Regions from separate parts of the Homo sapiens genome. Here region 1 is linked to region 2. Evidence: promoter capture Hi-C in human tissues and cell types (Jung and others, 2019). All regions are on one chromosome and are shown on one strand. Each heading gives the region's core, a stretch centred on a gene start or on the middle of the fragment in contact. The rest is flanking DNA. Distances are from core to core; before and after follow the strand shown.

The links. The method cuts DNA at HindIII sites, captures the fragments that hold promoters and counts their contacts. A contact is called where the count stands out against the background at its distance.
Region 1: a contact is called between a fragment that was not itself captured here and the fragment with the promoter of OR52I1 in region 2, in 1 of the 25 tissues and cell types used here (adrenal gland).

Annotation. Positions count from the first base shown.
Region 1 is chr11:4,631,645-4,635,322 of GRCh38, reverse strand. No RefSeq gene overlaps it. Among named protein-coding and RNA genes, the nearest start is that of OR51D1, 4.0 kb to the left of the region's middle. The HindIII fragment of the contact is 5,020 bases long and covers 1-3,678 here.
Region 2 is chr11:4,592,707-4,596,354 of GRCh38, reverse strand. It overlaps OR52I1 (olfactory receptor family 52 subfamily I member 1), which reads right to left and starts at 2,316. Exons shown (of 1, transcript NM_001005169.1): 1 at 1,342-2,316. The coding sequence starts at 2,316. The coding sequence ends at 1,342. OR52I2 (olfactory receptor family 52 subfamily I member 2) reads right to left here. Exons shown (of 2, transcript NM_001405760.1): 2 at 3,015-3,648. The HindIII fragment of the contact is 5,548 bases long and covers 1-3,648 here.

The sequences.
Region 1 (3,678 bases), core at 768-3,267, 39 kb before region 2:
GTTTTACTGATAGCATTTAACGTTGTGATATTATTTTTCATACTTATGAACATATCTTCGTATCTTTGTAGGGAGGGTGGACACTAATGTGTATGTATAAAAGGAAACGTGAACAGAGTCCTCTTCTATCCACTCTTAAGGCAGAAATTATTGGTCTTGTTGATCTGCACTCATACCTCACAACTCTATGACTTCAACTGAGGCATGTTTAATGGGCAGGCCGCTTAAATTATTATTAATATTAATAACATTATGTACCTAGTTGGCGTAATTTCCACAGGCACTTTTCAAGCATTCATTTTTTTTTCTCTTTTTACAGTATTAAGAATAGATCTTATTAAGGTGACCCAAAGTATGACTTTAAAAATAATAGTTTTCCCTCTACTTATATTTCAATATTTTTTGAAGGAAAGAAGGGAGGAAAAATCACTCAATGTAAATGGAATGCTAAAGGTCCAATGGATAACGGAGAGCTTTGGCCAAACATATACTCATGGCTTAGGAGGTCCTAAAAGATATGAACTTGCCTAATTCGACAGCCCCATCTCATGACACCTCAACTCTCCCTCAATACGGCCCTGCATTGGCATCTTTCTAGTTCCTTAAATAAAGTTCTCTATCTGTACACCTTCTTCTAAGCATTTGCTCAAATGCTTGTTTTATCTGGAATGGTCAACCTCTTTGTTTCCCTCCTCTAAAAACTAACATTTATTTAGATTCTGTTTTAGGTGCTATTTCTATAAGAAGGTCTTTCCTGTAAGATGTTTTCTTGTTTCTTTAGTATCCAAATTTCATTTTTAGATGACCAATGCCATTGTTTTTTGTTACGAGATAATGATATGTGTGTCACACACAAATCCCTACAACCTCCCATGAAAAGAAAGAGTGTAATGGTACCTAAAGATAAAAATGATTCCTTGTGTTAATAACCTGTTATAAAGCAAGAAAAAGAAACATGATATGAGAGTTAGAAAATGAAATTAGTCATTATTTGTAGATTAGTGATTGTATATGTAGAAAATCCAAAAGACTGTATTGATAAGTTATTAGAAATGAGTATGTAAAGATTGCTGAATACAAGGTCAACTTACAAAATTCCACTGTATTTCTTTATAAAATTTTTAAGCATTTACAATAACAGAAAAATCAGATGTCTAAGAGTGAATCTAACAAAGAATGTAGAGGAATTTCTGCACAGAAAACCACAAAGCATCCTTAAAAGACACTGAAGAAGACCTAAATAAATGGAAGAAAACACTATTCTTTTTAACTGGAAAACTCGATAATGTGAAGAATCTACTTAGCCCCCAAATTTTTCCATAGAATCAATACATTCCCAATAATATCCTAATTGGTGATTGTGTAAAATTTGGTAAGCTTGATTAAAATATACATAAAAATGTAAATTGCCAAAATTAGCCACAAAACTCTAGAAGAATAGGACAAAGTGAGATTTTATATACTAAATATCAAAAATTTAAAAACTATAGTAATTATGCATATGTGGTATTTGTTCAGGGATAGACAGTTGAGCCAATGAATGGAAATAAAATTTCAGAAGTATGCCCACTCATACACAGCCAGTTGTTAAATGACAAAGGTAATTCTGTGAGGCAATCAGAAAAGGAGAATTTTTTTATTAAATGATACTACAATAACTGAATATCCATATAGAAGAAAATAAAATTTGAACCCTAAATTCACACTACTTATAAGAATTAAATCTTTGTGGTTTTCATATATAAGTACAAAAGGCAAAGCAATTAGCCTTCCTGAAGTAATATAAAAGAATATTTTTATGACCTCAAGTAAAGATTGACTTCTTAATGCAGTTAATTCATCCATGAATATTTATTGAGTGCCTAATATATGACAGGTACTCTTCTAAGTGATGGAAACACTTTAATGAACAGAACAGACAAACTCTCCTGCTTTTGTGGAGCTTACATGCCAGCCAGTATGATTTAGCTTTCCTCTGTAGGTATATCTGTCTAGATGCATGCCAGATAGTTTTTTTTTTCACTTGCAGTTTATAAATTTCATTAGGAATTATCTAGAAATAGATCTTTTATTTTATAAATAAGTGAGCATGGCATATCTCCAAATGCTAGTGAAGATGCAGAGAAACAACCTCTAATGCATTGCAGGCGAGAATGTAAAATGGCACAACTACTCCGGAAAATAGTTTAGTAGTTTTTTTTTATTAAATTTTAAGTTTTGGGATACATGTGCAGAACATGCAGGTTTGTTACATAGGTATACATGTGCCATGGTGGCTTGCTGCATCTATCAACCATTATCCAGATTTTAAGTCCCACATGCATTAGGTATTTGTCCTAATGTTTTCCCTCCCCTTGCCCCTCGCCCACTGACATGCCCGGGTGAATGATGTTCCCCTCCCTGTGTCCATGTGTTCCCATTGATCAACTGCCACTTATGAGTGAGAATATGCAGTGTTTGGTTTTCTGTTCCTATGTTAGTTTGCTGAGAATGATGGATTCCAGCTTCATCCATGTCCCTGCAAAGGACATGAACTCATTCTTTTTTATGGCTGCATAGTATTCCATGGTGTACATGTGCCATATTTTCTTTATCCAGTCTATCATTGATGGGCACTTGGGTTGGTTCCAAGTGTTTGCTATTGTGAACAGCACTGCAATAAACATACATGTGCATGTGTCTTTATAGTAGAATGATTTATAATCCTTTGGGTATATACCCAGTAATGAGATTGCTGGGTCAAATGGTATTTCTGGTTCTAGATCCTTAAGGAATGGCCACACTGTCTTCTACAATGGTTAAACTAATTTACACTCCCATCAACAGTGTAAAAGTGTTCCACATGCTCTCCAGCATCTGTTGTTTCCTGACTTTTTAATGATCACCATTCTAACTGGTGTGAGATGGTATCTCATTGTGGTCTTGATTTGCATTTCTCTAATGACCAGAGATGATGAGCTTTTTTTCATATGTTTATTGGCCACATAAATGCCTTCTTTTGAAAAGTGTCCATTCATATCTTTTGTCCACTTTTTGATGGGGTTGTTTTTTCTTGTAAATTTGTTTAAGTTCCTTGTAGATTCTGGATATTAGACTTTGTCAAATGGATAGATTGTAAAAATTTTCTCTTATTCTGTAGGTTGCCTGTTCACTGTAATGATAGTTTCTTTTGCTGTGCAGAAGCTCTTTAGTTTAATTAGATCCCATTTGTCAATTTTGGCTTTTGTTGCCATTGCCTTTTGTGTTTTAGTCATGAAGTCTTCGCCCATGCCTATGTCTGGAATGGTATTGCCTAGGTTTTCTTCTAGGGTTTTTATGGTTTGGGGTTTTACATTTAAGTCTTTAATCCATCTTGAGTTAATTTTTGTATAAGGTGTAAAGAAGGGGTCCAGTTTCAGTTTTCTGCATATGGCTAGCCAGTTTTCCCAGTACCATTTATTAAATAGGGAATCATTTCCCCATTGCTTGTTTTTGTCAGGTTTGTCAAAGATCAGATGGTTGTAGATGTGTAGTGTTATTTCTATGGCCTCCGTTCTGTTCCTTTGGTCTATATACCTGTTTTGGTACCAGTACCATGCTCTTTTGGTTACTATAGCCTTGTAGTATAGTTTGAAGTCAGGTAGCATGAAGCCTCCAGCTTTATTCTTTTTGCTTAGGATTGCCTTGGCTATACAGGTT
Region 2 (3,648 bases), core at 1,067-3,566:
CATGTGCCATGTTGGTGTGCTGCACCCATCAACTCGTCATTTAACATTAGGTATATCTCCTAATGCCATCCCTCCCCCTTCCCCCCACCCCACAACAGGCCCTGGTGTGTGATGTTCCCCTTCCTGTGTCCATGTGTTCTCATTGTTCAGTTCCCACCTATGAGTAAGAACATGCGGTGTTTGGTTTTCTGTCCTCGTGATAGTTTGCTGAGAATGATGGTTTCCAGCTTCATCCATGTCCCTACAAAGGACATGAACTCATCATTTTTTTATGGCTACGTAGTATTCCATGGTGTCTATGTGCCACATTTTCTTAATCCAGTCTATCATTGTTGGACATTTGGGTTGGTTCCAAGTCTTTGCTATTGTCAACTTCTTTATCTACATTGTTTTCTATTAGCCTCTTCATCACAGAGCACACCCCCTGAGAGGTGCCCACAAGAAGAAAGACCTGTGTATATTTGATCCCTTTCTTTTATGCCTTAAGGTTAAGTTACACGGACTGGGACTAGGAAGCAACAAGAAAGATTTCCAAAACCAAACTTATATTAACTTAGCTTCTGTTGCTTAAAAACAAAAAGCTGGTAATTGGTTCACTAACTCCAACTAGCTTAACAATAGGAGATACATTTAAAAGTTAAGTGGTATTTTACAGAACATAACAATATACCTGGGTGTCCAAAGTGATTTGGAATCAGAGAACCAAGGACTTATTCTCTTCATCCGTTCTTGGTGATTGGCTTTTGATGCATGGGCCAATCCCAATTTTCTCCTTCCAGTTTATGTGTTGTAGAATTACCACCATCTCTGATCCCAAGTTTATATCTCCCCAGATGAACAGTAGACCATACAGCTTGGGAAGGACCCTGGTCTAGGTGTGGGCATTAGGACCCAAATGGAGTGAGATCACTATTGGGCCAGAGGGCAGGGTCATATATTAATAGCTTCTTCCATGTAATCACTTGGAGGAAAGAACAGTTCTGAGAATATCAGTCAGGTTAAGGGGAAGATACCAAACAGTTGGTCTCTTCAGCAGAGGGGATGGTAGGATATTAGGTAGGAAATATAGGTCAGAAGCTATAGAAGGAAAAATTACAGAGCTGTATTCTATACCAAACTTACTCTGATTCAGACACTATCATATTAACCCATTAAAAATGTCAGAAAATTAGAAACATTTCATTCATATTATTGGTAGAAATTTAAAAGTTACACAAAGATATCCTTTATAGCTTCATCTCAGATTTCCTTATAGTACCAGGTAAACCAATCCAGCTCCACAGATCTCTGAGGCATCTTTGAAGTTGGCTAGAATGCTCTGGATCTGAACAGATATTGTGTTCATGAACCCAGGTTGGAGTGGTCAAAGAGGAAGTGCATCAGATAACTCCATATTCCCTCCAGCAATTGTTTGGTCCTCATGCCATAGATGATGGGATTTAAAGTGGCTGGGATGATCACGTACAGGTCAGCTAGCAGCACTTGGGTGTGCAAGGGCACTATATCCTGCCCCAACCAGGCCGCATAGATGGATGCCATCCCAGGTAGATAGTACAAAGCCATAACCCCCACATGGGAGCCACATGTGCTTAATGCTTTCAACTGAGCAGTCTTTGAGGAGAGATCAAATACTGCCCTGAGAATTAAGATATAGGAGGCAGCAATGAAGGCCACATCAGAGCCCACCATAAGAGAGGAACCAATCAGACTGTAGAGACTGCTGGGCACGGGGTCAGCACATGCTAACCTGGCCAAAGCTATGTGCTTACAGTAGGAGTGGACAACCACATTGGAGCCACAGAAAGGTAGATGATTCATCATCCAACTCAGTGGAGTCATGAATGTGACAGCTCTGATGGTGACGGCCATACTCATTCCCAGCATCACTTGAGGCGTGAGAATTCTCTTGTAGTGTAGAGGCTTGCAGATGGCTACATAGCGGTCAAAAGCCATGGTCAGCAGCAGCCCCGTCTCCACAGCTGTGGCTAAGTGGACAAAAAACATCTGAGTGAAACAAGCACTAAAGCTGATGGAGCTGTCTCCCGAGCAGAAGATGCTCACCATCTTGGGTACCACGGAGGAGGCCATAACAATGTCCACAGCAGCCAGAACACACAGAAAGCAATACATGGGCTCATGCCGAGTGGAATCCATCCAGATTGCAGTCACGATGAGGGTGTTTCCTAACAGGGCTGTGATGTACATGGCACTCAGTGAGATAGCCAGCCAAAGATGTGAAGATTGCAGTCCTGGGATACCCACAAGGAGGAAGGAGGCAGGGGTTTCCATTGTGTGGTTGTAAGCTGGACCCAGCATCACAGGTGAGACTTCTTGCCTATTAATGTATAGATGATGTAAGAGAATGGTGCAGTCCTATAAGATTAGTTCCTCTTTGTGGTGCTGGGAAAACCTAGGGATATTCTCAGCTTGGTGGTATGGCAGGATCAGAAAAATGACTTCTAATACTGTGCTACTTTTCATCCTCCTTACAAGTTTCTATTCATTGTTGAAGGATCAGCTCGTGAATTCCTTCCTTAGGGACTTGTGTTCTGCTCTCTTCCTCACCCAACCCCATGCCCAGGTTAAGTTAATTACCTCTTTTGCAGTTTCCTGAAATCTCCTGTAGGGACTAAATCGACAATTCCAGTACTGTATGAGTTTATGGTATTCACTCAAGTGCCTTATAGGAAGATTGTGATCCATAGCTGTGGTCACAAGTCACTTGAGTGAAGATATATATACTCATTACAGTAAACAATTTCCACAGAAAGAACGATTAACAGAGGAAAGAATGACTTATCTCTGTGTGCTGTTACTAAATGTTGAAACCAGAACTTCTTGAAAACAAACATCACATTTTATATGCTCAGCATATTGCATAGACAAAACATAAATTCAGCATTCTTGTGATTCATGAAGTACGTTAGTAAGTTCAGTAAAATAAAACCATTAGAGAATAACATTATCACATTTTACAGGTGATTATAAATTATCTATAAATAAATATAATCCTTACCTTCTCTAAATTTACCCTGGATCCTATTCACTTTGGTTCAGTTAATAGATTAAATTACTACAAGGAAAATCTTAGGGTTACCTTATAGATGACCCCCCCTCCCCAATAAGTTGTTATGGTTCTTTAATACAACTAACTCCCTCTTCCTGATAACCAAGATGTTCCAAACAAGAAAGCTTTATCCTTTAGAAAGTTAAGCACTTTATTATTAACACAGTATGTGCCAGTACTATGTTAAAAGTGTAGTATTCATAATCTGAGTGTATTTCTCCATTTGTAATATAAGACAAACATCCATTCCATACAACACAGTTTGTATAACTTAGATTAAATATTCTAGCCAAGATCATGTAGTACGTGTGTGGTAAGTTTTGGGTTTAAGCTATGACTCCCAGGTGTCCATCCAGCCCAACATAAATAGTCAACAAGACAACTATGGATAAAACAAGGTTAGGGGTTTCACTTGGCCACGTTTGATGAGACAAAGATAGCTACTGCTGTGCACAGCCAGCAGCTGAGCTCTACCACTTGTTCATCTCTGTTTATTGATGTATTCACCCTCCATTGCCTCATTCAGGTGTTACCATATCATATAATATGTAACAATCTAAGTGGGGAAACCTGAATATAAA